Linked DNA regions of Homo sapiens: all the other regions are linked to region 2. The links are contacts of gene promoters, found by promoter capture Hi-C in blood cells and fetal thymus (Javierre and others, 2016). All regions are on one chromosome and are shown on one strand. Each heading gives the region's core, a stretch centred on a gene start or on the middle of the fragment in contact. The rest is flanking DNA. Distances are from core to core; before and after follow the strand shown. Region 1 holds the start of MTRF1 (mitochondrial translation release factor 1). Region 2 holds the start of WBP4 (WW domain binding protein 4). Region 3 holds the start of KBTBD7 (kelch repeat and BTB domain containing 7).

Region 1 (3,612 bases), core at 609-3,108, 200 kb before region 2:
TTTTTTTTTTTTGAGACGGAGTTTCACTCTTGTTGCCCAGGCTGGAGTGCAATGGTGCAATCTTGGCTCACTGCCACCTCTGTCTCCTGGGTTCAAGCGATTCTCCTGCCTCAGCCTCCGAGTAGCTAGGATTACAAGCATGAGCCACCACGCCCAGCTAATTTTGTATTTTTAGTAGAGATGGGGTTTCTCCATGTTGGTCAGGCTGGTTTCGAACTCCTGACCTCAGGTGATCCACCTGGCTCGGCCTCCCAAAGTGCTAGGATTACAGGCGTGAACCACCACGCCCGACTAAGACTAATTTTTTAAGGAGAATAAAGCTTTATATATAATACTCAAGTTATATAGCTGAAAGCACAAATCAGAATAAATAATTAAAGAACTTTTTGGATAACTTAGGAGAATGACTTTATGTAGACCCTTTGAAACTTTTCCCCTACTGGAACATAAGCTCCATGTGGGCAAAGGTTTTTGTCTTTTCTGTTCATTGCTAAATCCTCATGACTAGAATAGTGAATAGCACATAACTGGTGTTCACTATTTATTGAATACATGATTGAAGGTTTTTTCTTTTTTGGAGCAGGGTGGCCCTATATCAGAGCTTAGGAGCCACAGATCATTAAAGCCATTGCCTTAATTGAGTCTTGGCTCTATCACTTACTGTTTTTTACCTTGGAGTAGTTACTTTAGCTCTGTGTGCCTTAATTTTCTCCTCTGCAAAATAAGTATTTTAAGGTTGTAAAAATTAAATGAATTAATAGGGTAAAACCATTTAGAACAGTATTTAGTACATAGTACATAGAAGTAGGTACCTTGAAGTTGGCTATAAACGTTAGATATTATTTTGCATATATAGCTAATTCTCCTATCTATGTATGTGATTATAATCTAAGAAAATACTCTGTAAAGTCAGTAATATGGTACATTTTTTGCCTTTTCTTTCAGGAAGAAAAATTGAGGCATGGAGATAGAAAGACTGTAAATTGCGATAGCCAAGGGCTGGATCCCACTGGATTAGTCAAAGTAGGACAATATGCTTGCATTTTCCTGCAATTGTTTATTAACTGGAGTTTTCATTCTTCACTTAATCAGTGGTTCATAAGCTATGAATCTAGGTTGAGCCCCTACATTCCCATGTGCAAAGAACATTATAAAATCACTAACATGTGGAAATACACGGTCTCCTAACTTTTGGGGCTGTTACTACTTTTAAAATATAAATTTATTTGTATTATCCTTTAGTCATTAGGTATTTTCTGAAGCAATGGAAGCTGAAAGTATAGAAATTACACGCAGAATCTTCTACATTTGTGGATGATGTAAAAGGAGTCTTTATTTTTTTTAAATATTGGAAAACAGTGCTTTACGGGCTTCTAATACATAAGGAAATTATTGTAATTTCACATGCAATGTGTTCTAAATCTTGATCTCTTAATCAGAATCGTAAAGAATCTCTCTTCTAGGTTTGCAGTTAACGGTGAAAACCAAAAACTCCACATTTGGCTGGATAGTGAGTGGAGGGGGTTGGAGGCTGCCGCAAGGTAAACTACAACTCCCAGGATTCTTTGGTGGGCGCTCTGGGAGTTGTAGTTTAGTCCCACCTTGGCCCCTCCCTCCCTCCCTCCCTCCCACCATCTCCATCCCCGCTCTGGGCTCACGCTCTGGATAAGGACGGCGCGGGGGCGGTTGTCTGATGACAATTTCATTCTCGTTTTGTCATTTTTCTCATTTAGCTCATTTTTGTCATTTTAGTCCATTGTTAGGCATGCTCGAGGACAACTCCTCCGGAGAGCGGTAGTGGCGGAGGAGGGGCCGGGAGCGTGCGTTAACCCGGAAGAAGTGAACCAGGAAGTGAACGTGATCTCGGGTTTGTCGGGCTGAAATGTGGCGGGTCTCGGAAGGTTCCGACCTCAGTAAAGAGAGCTAACGTGTATTCTTCTTTTTCTTAGGTACTCACAGTTCTTTCCTGATCTTCCCCGCCGCCTCCTGTATTGCCTCTTTATGGAATCACTCCATATACTGAGTTACACAGCATGGTTTGCCCGTGCTGCTGCCCCGCGGGCTGTCGCTTCTGACCTGCCTACACTCAGAACTTTCCCCAAAGCATCAGAGTAATACTGTTACTGTGATGGGTAATGGAGAAGTCGTGCTGTTCTCAGGTGTAGTTAACCTTGGAGAGTAAACATCTTGTTTTGTTTTGTTTTCCTTAATGTTGAGATTCATGACCTTGAAAATTATGCATTCTACTACTGTTCCTAAAATGGAAATTTTAGCAATAAGTATTCGTACAAACATATATTTGTCATCCTTTTATTCTGTCTGTTAGCAAATGGATACACTTTCTCTAACGTGCTTGAAATACGGGGGTGGTGGAGTGTAACGTTTGTGACAGCTGGCCATTGGTGCTTTCTTCAACAGTTCTTTTAATAATGTGATGCAGTATCCTAAAATCTATCAGTAGAACTCTGGAAACTGAATATTTTAAAGACCATTCTGACTATTTTATTTCCTAGGTGATAATGCTAAGTTAACAGACTTATAGTGAACAAATGAGCTAATATATCAATGCACCTCCTAGCATAGTAGGATCACTGGAGACAGTAAAGTTTGATTTTGATAAATGTTGATCCTTCTTTTTTTGAGTTGAGTCTCACTGTGTTGCCCAGGCTGGCCTTGAACTCCTTGGCTCAAGTGATCCTCCTGCCTCAGTCTCCTGGGTAGCTGGGACAATAGGTGCATGCTACTGTGCGTGGCTTGACCCTTATTTCAACTTTGAACCTTAGAGTTTTCTTAGAACACTTTATATTCTCCCTTTCTTACTCAGTAAGACCATTGTGTACTTTTGTTAGCTCTTGATTATCTCTGTTGGAGGGGAGGAGAACAGAAAATTATTGTACACAGCCAATTTCACCTAACCTGTAATTTTTTAAACTAATCTTTTTTTATGATTAGGAAAGTATTCCATGCTACATGTGCAAGAAACTTGGAAAACACTGAAAAGTAGAAAAAATAGCAAGCAAAAGGTATTCATAATCTCACAACTAGAGATCATTTTATTAACATTTTGGTATGTTTCTTTTTTTTTTTTTTTTTTTGAGACAGCGTGTTGCTTTGTCGCCCACGCTGGTTGCAGTGGTGCGATCTCAGTTCACTGCAACCTTCGCCTCCCAGGTTCAAGCGATTATCCTGCCTCAGCTTCCCGAGCAGCTAGGACTACAGGTGTGTGCCATCACGCTCAGCTAATTTTTTTGGTATTTTTAGTAGAGATGGGGTTTTCCCATGTTGGCCAGGCTGGTCTCGAACTCCTGACCTCAGATGATCTGCCCGCCTCGGCCTCCCAAAGTGGTAGGATTACAGGCGTGAGCCACTGTGCTCGGCACATTTTGGTATGTTTCTTATTTAACTTTCTTTTTAAAAAATACTCTATGTGCTTTTTTTTTTTTACATGTATACCTTATATTGTAGAATATTTTTTAAATGTAATTGAGATTCTATTTTGTTCCTTGCCTTTCTTGCTTAATATAATTGTCACCATTTAATATAACTGTAGAGCTTTTCACCAGCCCTACTTTCTTGGTCTATTAATACTTGAACTTTTCTTCCTTTAGGATC
Region 2 (3,599 bases), core at 260-2,759:
AGTATTATGAACACCACCATTATAATATAGGTGCTTCATAACATGAATGATATGACCAACTCATTGCCCATTTCCCAAAAGGCCACAGAGAAATAATTTAATATATAATCAAAGTCAGGTTGATGAAAAGGAAGAAGGCTCACAGCTTTCATAGGGGACTGAGAAGACAGAAATCTTCTGATGTTTTGAAAATGCAAGAGCAATGTACATAAAAGTGCTTTGTAAACTGAGTTTACATCAAAAAGGAGCACTTCATTCAACACAATTATTATTAGAATCTCTAACAGCGGAATTATCATACAGGCCTATTGTCTGCTATCCAGCACTTGCAGTAATCACAGAATTTCTTTGGCTGTGACTTCCAGTAGTCCGCCCTGAAAAAGAGAGACAACAAGGCTAAGCTCATGTAAAACTTAAAAAAGGTTAAATTCTGCATGCTTTACAGTTTTTAAAGTTTGAAATATATGCCCCTGCTACTGAATCTTGTCTTGTTATGTATAGTCGTTTTATTATTTATCTGGTTGGAGCACAGTCAATTGAAATTCTGTTGCCAGCGGAGTAGAAAAAGTCTGTATCTGATTCATTACAAAACTCCCTTCAATAAAATGGCTTTCAAAAATTCCTCACTTGTTATCGTCATCGTTATGAAAAACTAAGGAACATCTTAGAAGAACATTTATCCTTTCTGGCTTTGGGGGAGGTTGCTGTAATGGAAACCTGAAGAAACTCATAAAGTTTGCCTTAAATCAAGTTATTCCCACCAAGAGAACAACGTACAAGACTACTCTGGGGAAAACTGTAGTTCCTCCCAGACTCTCAGTTAAAACAAACTGTTCTTGAGCCTCAAGGCAAGAGAGAACTGGAAAAGCCATGGGACTTCGTAGACGGCCGACAAAAAAAAAAAAAAAAAAAAAAAAAAAACCATTACGCTATCCAGGGCTGGCCGCTTCCAGTGGGCGGGGGAGGCCGCAGCCCAGCCCTAGTTTCACAATACCCTAGGGTTCAGGGGCTTCGGAAACCCAAGGGGTGCATGCGACCCCCGACAGCGTCGTAGAGAGAGCACTGCGTCGCTTCACCCGCGGCCGTCCAACCAGCCCCCTGAACCGGCCGCCGGCCTCCCCCTAGAGCCCGTGCCCCATACCCCAGGGCGTTCAGCGGGGTAACATTTCTACCCCGCCCTGAGAACCGGCCCTGCAGGTCTGGGGCCGGTCCCGAGCGAGTTAAGAACGCGTCTGTCACGCCCCCGGCCGAAGGGCGGGAGGAGAGGAGGGGAAGACCCGGGCGAGAAAGGGCGGCCCAGAGAAACAACACCTCGTTGTTCAGGGCCTGAGACCCAACTCACATGACTGCGCCAGCCGCTCTGCAAGTCGTCCAGGGTTCCACTCAGACTCGCGCTTTCCCAGCGGGACGAGTCGAGCTCTTCCAGCCGCCCGATGCCCACCCGAACCTCCCTCCGATCCAGACACCTTACTCAGTCCCCGGGACCAGCGTTCCGCTGTTCCCAACTACGGGTGCCCAGACGATCCAATCCGCGTTCGAAATCGCCTCCTCTCCCCTCCCCCTACAGGGGCGGTACTCCCGGCTCCAAAGAGGTGGGGTCGGTATAAAGGGGTTGAGGTCACCGGGAAGGGGTAAAAGCGCGACGGGACCTGAGCTGAAGGACGGGATCTCAAGCCTCAAGTCCCTGCGCCATCCCGCCGTCTCTGTGTCCTCCCCTGGGGCCCAAAACCTCCATCCTCCTTCTAGGCTCGCTGGCTCAAGGCCAAGGAGCTCAGCGCGCCGCCTCCGCCCGGAACGCAAACAGCTGTTCCCAGAGACGTCTCCGCTCTCAACTTTGCCAACTACTCCGCACGCACTTTGACCAGCGGAGCAACCGGGACCTGTGGGTCGGGGTCCTCTGGCGGAGTTAAAAAAAAAAGAGGTGAAACTGCGGGACCGGCGCTGCGAGTCGCTAGGCTTCGCCTCAAACTTTGCTGTTGCAGCGGAGCGGCCCCGCCCCTCCTCTCCCCTACGACGCCCACGCGCTCGGATGGGGCTTGTTCCCTAGCTCGGGAGCGTGTGGGCAGCAGCAGCGGCGGCGGCGGCGGCGGCGGCGGCGGCGGCAGCAGCAGCTTCAGTAGCGCAGAGGCGGCGGTGGCGAGAGGTGCGGCGAAGGAGGCAGAGGCACTTATGCTTGTCAGGTGGGTCACGGCAGTTTCTCATAGCACTTCCCATATGGTCTAGCGGTTAGGATTCCTGGTTTTCACCCAGGTGGCCCGGGTTCGACTCCCGGTATGGGAACGCTTCCTTATTTTTCTTTTTTTTTGCAACTATCGGTTTGGAGGGCTGACTTTTTAAATCTTGTGTTCTGGCTCCTTTCTTGTCCCCGTCTGGGTGAGTTTGTAGAAAATAAGCATTACTGTAGTTAGTGGCGCCAGGAGCTGGGCTGCGGCTTTTGGAGCCTCGAGTGCCACGCCGTGCCTGCTGGAGAAGCGAATGCGCTTCCGATCCTTCTCCCTCCCGCCTCCGGCTCACGGGGCTGGTGGGCCCTGAGGGAGTTTCACTTTCCCCTGGGCTGCTCCCCCGCCCCTCCGGCCCGTAGTTTTCCAGACGCCCGGGAGGTGATGATTAACTCCGGCCTTGCGTTATCTCCTCCCAGCGCCCCCGTCCGGCCCACACCCTCTTCAGCCGCTCTTGCGACTCTTCCTATGCAGGACGGGCTGACCCCCCTGCCCTGGGCGCCCCAGAGCCCGCGCCCGGACCAGTAGCTCTAGTGGTTCTCTGGCCGCAGGGTATTTACGAGGCCCCACGGAACACAGTGTGCCTTCCGCGCCCTCCCGGGGGGACGCGCTTTCCCGGCCGCGCAGCCGCCCGGCGCCCCTTTCCGCCGCGTGTGCGCTCGCGTCTCCACCCGCGGCGCCTGAGCAAGCGCGAGGCCGGCCTGCGAGGTCTTCCCAACTTGACTTAAGGGGCGCTGGTCGCAGTCACGGAAAGTACCCTCGAAAAAAGGCCTTTGGGAACGAGAATCTTTTTTCTTTCCCTTTAAAAATACACACCACGAGCTATGGAGGAGAAAAATACCACTCTGATGAGATGGCTTTAAATAAGTATATCGACTTTCCAAAGGGTCTAACATTTTGAGCGCGGTTGATTTAAAGAAAAAAATTGATTAAAACAACGGCAAAACATCCTGGGGTGGAGGTGGGGCTTGGGAAAGAGAAAATTGGCTGGAGACTGGGGAGGGGACGTTAAAACAAAGTTTCACTGTATTTTTAAATATAGAAGCCCTGTGTTTATTACAAAGAAGGGACAGCTGTGTCAGCAGCATGTGAGCTGTAAATGAAACAAAAGCGTTATCTTAAATGCAAGCTGAAATTAGAAAATAGGGTCGGCTATAATGTTTATTGGGCCTCTGGGAACAAACGAAGAAGGAAAAAGTGACTCTTGTAGATGGGTTTCTGGTCAGTGCCATTACTGAAAGCAGATGTTTTGGTTGTTAGTATGTGTGTTCCCAGACTATTTTGTAGCTTTAACTGCACAGTAAATTTGTTAATGTGATCTGCGTGATTAAGGATTAATTAGGCTTACCTTGTTAAAAAGAAAGAAAAAGCCTAAGTATT
Region 3 (4,048 bases), core at 618-3,117, 130 kb before region 2:
TTTGAGGCAGCAGTGAGCTATTATGGTGCCACTGCACTCCAACCTGGGTGACAGGGCAAGACCCCATCTCAAAAAAAAAAAAAAAAAAGAAAAAAAAAAGGCTTTTTTCCCCAGCTGGTATTCACTGCAAGTCAGGAAACAATCATTGTTACTGATAATGACTGACTTGATTCTCTCTGGTGTATCTGAGGGATATCTAACATCTCTTTTTATTTACAGAGGAGTTATTAGAGCCCAGAGGCTGACTTAATTTAATGTGTCTACCCTAGAGTATTTCCAGTGGACTTCAGCTGATAAGTTGAAGTTATCTTCAGCTGATAAGAGAAAAACAATTTGAAAGTTATTCTCTTGTAATGTGTTATCCATACATGCATGTAACACTGATGATTTTCTTTATTAGGTTATGGTAACATAACAAACTAGCAGCAGGAGCAGTCATGGTTTTGTAATAAAAGTTATCTGAAAAAGTCTGTTACTGGTGGAGGGTGTCCAGGTTCTTGGCGTTTTGGACAAAAAATTGGACAAAACACATAAACAAAGCAAGGAAACAATGAAACAACAAAAGCAGAGATTTACTGAAAATGAAAGTACACTCCACAGTGGGGAGCGGGCCTGAGCATAGGGGCTCAAGGGCCCTGTTACAGAATTTCTGAAGGTTTAAATACCCTCTAGAGGATTCCACTGGTTACTTGGTGTACACCCTATGTAAATGAAGAGAATGAAGTAAAGTTACAAACTCATTTACTCAGCATACACCCTATGGAGAGGATCTTTCCTGTTATAGCTAAAGTGTGAATCAGCCTTATGTTCCCTGCCTCCAGACCCTATTTTCCTGCCTCAAATCTCTAATACTTGATTTTGATGATTTAACTGTTGATCCCAATGCAAATATAAAAGACTTTGTAAAGCATAGACTATACTATATATTAATTCAAGGAATGTCAGGGCATGTACTGATGTTGAATTCTGAGAATCATGTGCTTTTGTACAGAACAAAGTCTGTTTGTTGAAATATTTTGAGTTAAAATACTCCCTAAAACTCCTTAATAAAGGGAATTACATAATCTGTTAATTGATTTGTGGAACGGCAGTGAAAGAGGCTGTATTAGACGACTTGAAAACACTCATATTTGGAGCTTAACGAAAATACTCCTGCTCTCCAGAGATGAAATGTTAGTGAGAGCAGCAAATAATTTATTTTTATATGCTGGATTTGCGTATTTGAGACCATCTATTAATACTGTTCTTTAGGACCTCAACCTAGTCGTCTAAGACATCCTTATTAAACGAGACCAATAGATATCATTTAATATTGAAAATATTGTTAATGCCCTTCAAAATCTTTCGAAGGAATAAACATTAAAAACTAGAAATTCTTTGTAAAATTTTGCGGTTTAAAATAATACTCGGTTTCAAATTAGTGGGTGCCTCATTTATCATAAATTATAAAAGAGAATCTAACAGTTATTGGCTACATTCTAGGCACGGGGTAACGCTTTACTATTCTTCTAACCAAAAACATACATGTATCTAAGTATCCCATGTAAGGTATCATTGAACCACACAAAACCCTATGAAATACTGGCAGGGGGCGGTGGCTCACGCCTGTAATCCCAGCACATTGAGAGGCCGAGGCAGGAGGATAATTTGAGCCCTCAGGAGTTCAAGACCAGCCTGGGCAACAGTCTCTTCACCATCAAATCCAGGAGAATTAATTTCTACTGTTAGAGCAGTCAACTAAAGGACAGCTCGCGATATTACACAAACTACTACTCCCAACATGCAAAGCGGTTTCTTTCCCTCTGTCCCCGCCCGGCCGTCCGAGAGCCCCAGCAGGCCTCGGGGCGCGAAAGGCAACCTGGGAGCAGTAGTTCTCCCGGGCGCCTAGCGGGATCGCCAGCGCGGCAGTGGGGGCTTCCGCGGCTGCAAGCCAGCGGGTCCTGTGAGGGCGAGCGGAGGCGGAGAAAGGGCGCGGGAGTGAGAGAGGGTGAGTCAGCCACTGTCTATGCAATAAAGGGAGGCCTCACCGCGGGATAGGGCTGAATTCAGAAGTGCGGCCCGTGCCGCAGTCTGTTCCAGGACGCGGCTTGTCTTAGCGTCAGCGAGGGAAGGTTGAGGAGGAGCCAGAGCCTGGTCCTGCAGCCTTTCTCGCCGTCAGCGCCCGTCGCCATCTCCACCATGCAGTCCCGGGAAGACGTCCCGCGCTCTCGCCGCCTCGCCAGTCCCCGTGGTGGGAGGCGGCCCAAGAGGATTTCCAAGCCCTCGGTTTCGGCCTTTTTCACGGGTCCAGAGGAGTTAAAGGACACGGCCCATTCTGCAGCCCTGCTGGCACAGCTCAAGTCCTTCTACGACGCGCGGCTGCTGTGTGATGTGACCATCGAGGTGGTGACGCCTGGCAGCGGGCCTGGCACGGGTCGCCTCTTTTCCTGCAATCGCAACGTGCTAGCAGCTGCGTGTCCCTACTTCAAGAGCATGTTCACAGGTGGCATGTACGAGAGCCAGCAGGCCAGCGTGACCATGCACGATGTGGACGCCGAGTCCTTCGAGGTGTTGGTCGACTACTGCTACACGGGTCGTGTGTCTCTCAGTGAGGCCAATGTGCAGCGCCTGTACGCGGCCTCCGACATGCTACAGCTGGAATATGTGCGGGAAGCCTGTGCCTCCTTCTTAGCCCGACGTCTTGACCTGACCAACTGCACCGCCATCCTCAAGTTTGCAGACGCCTTCGACCATCACAAGCTTCGATCTCAGGCCCAGTCCTACATAGCTCACAACTTCAAGCAGCTCAGCCGAATGGGTTCAATTCGGGAGGAGACTCTAGCAGATCTAACCCTGGCCCAGCTGCTGGCTGTCCTACGCCTGGATAGTCTGGACATAGAGAGTGAGCGGACTGTATGCCATGTAGCTGTGCAGTGGCTGGAGGCTGCTGCCAAAGAGCGGGGTCCCAGTGCTGCAGAAGTCTTCAAGTGCGTGCGCTGGATGCACTTCACTGAAGAAGATCAGGACTACTTAGAAGGGCTGCTGACCAAGCCCATCGTGAAGAAGTACTGCCTGGACGTTATTGAAGGGGCCCTGCAGATGCGCTATGGTGACCTGTTGTACAAGTCTCTGGTGCCAGTGCCAAACAGCAGCAGCAGCAGTAGCAGCAGCAACTCTCTTGTATCTGCAGCAGAAAATCCACCCCAGAGACTGGGTATGTGTGCCAAGGAGATGGTGATCTTCTTTGGACATCCTAGAGATCCCTTTCTCTGCTATGACCCTTACTCGGGGGACATTTACACAATGCCATCCCCTTTGACCAGCTTTGCTCACACTAAGACTGTCACCTCCTCAGCTGTCTGTGTGTCCCCAGACCATGACATCTATCTAGCTGCTCAGCCCAGGAAAGACCTCTGGGTGTATAAACCAGCTCAGAATAGTTGGCAGCAACTTGCAGATCGCTTGCTGTGTCGTGAGGGCATGGATGTGGCATATCTCAATGGCTACATCTACATTTTGGGGGGACGAGACCCTATTACTGGAGTTAAGTTGAAGGAAGTGGAATGCTACAGTGTTCAGAGAAACCAGTGGGCATTGGTGGCTCCTGTCCCTCATTCCTTCTATTCCTTTGAACTCATAGTGGTTCAGAACTATCTTTATGCTGTCAACAGTAAGCGCATGCTTTGCTATGATCCTAGCCACAATATGTGGCTGAACTGTGCTTCTCTTAAACGTAGTGACTTTCAGGAAGCATGTGTCTTCAATGATGAAATCTATTGTATCTGTGACATCCCAGTCATGAAGGTCTACAACCCAGCTAGGGGAGAATGGAGGCGGATTAGTAATATTCCTTTGGATTCAGAGACCCACAACTACCAGATTGTCAATCATGACCAAAAGTTGCTTCTCATCACTTCTACAACCCCACAATGGAAAAAGAACCGAGTGACAGTGTATGAGTATGATACTAGGGAAGATCAGTGGATTAATATAGGTACCATGTTAGGCCTTTTGCAGTTTGACTCTGGCTTTATTTGCCTTTGTGCTCGTGTTTATCCTTCCTGCCTTG

Evidence for each region. Contacts are between HindIII fragments. The CHiCAGO score rates a contact against its expected background, and 5 or more counts as called.
Region 1: the fragment with the promoter of MTRF1 here is called in contact with the fragment with the promoter of WBP4 in region 2 in 1 of 17 cell types (naive B cells); the score reaches 5.3 in naive B cells.
Region 3: a contact is called between the fragment with the promoter of KBTBD7 here and the fragment with the promoter of WBP4 in region 2, in 16 of 17 cell types (neutrophils, non-activated CD4 T cells, erythroblasts and 13 more). The highest score is 12.4, in neutrophils.

Annotation. Positions count from the first base shown.
Region 1 is chr13:41,261,822-41,265,433 of GRCh38, reverse strand. MTRF1 (mitochondrial translation release factor 1) reads left to right here and starts at 1,858. Exons shown (of 10, transcript NM_004294.4): 1 at 1,858-1,949. RefSeq lists a silencer at 1,563-1,652 and an enhancer at 1,940-2,440. The HindIII fragment of the contact is 4,724 bases long and covers 323-3,612 here.
Region 2 is chr13:41,059,419-41,063,017 of GRCh38, reverse strand. It overlaps WBP4 (WW domain binding protein 4), which reads right to left and starts at 1,509. Exons shown (of 10, transcript NM_007187.5): 1 at 1,343-1,509; 2 at 302-374. The coding sequence starts at 1,344. TRE-TTC1-2 (tRNA-Glu (anticodon TTC) 1-2) reads left to right here and starts at 2,209; the gene lies at 2,209-2,280. It also overlaps a transcript of ELF1 not described here. RefSeq lists a silencer at 2,715-2,894. The HindIII fragment of the contact is 8,920 bases long and covers 1-3,599 here.
Region 3 is chr13:41,192,388-41,196,435 of GRCh38, reverse strand. KBTBD7 (kelch repeat and BTB domain containing 7) reads left to right here and starts at 1,867. Exons shown (of 1, transcript NM_032138.7): 1 at 1,867-4,048. The coding sequence starts at 2,179. All of the region lies in intron 3 of KBTBD6-DT (KBTBD6 divergent transcript), which reads right to left. RefSeq lists enhancers at 1,697-1,786, 2,097-2,366, 1,711-2,417, 2,418-3,125. The HindIII fragment of the contact is 3,616 bases long and covers 1-2,741 here.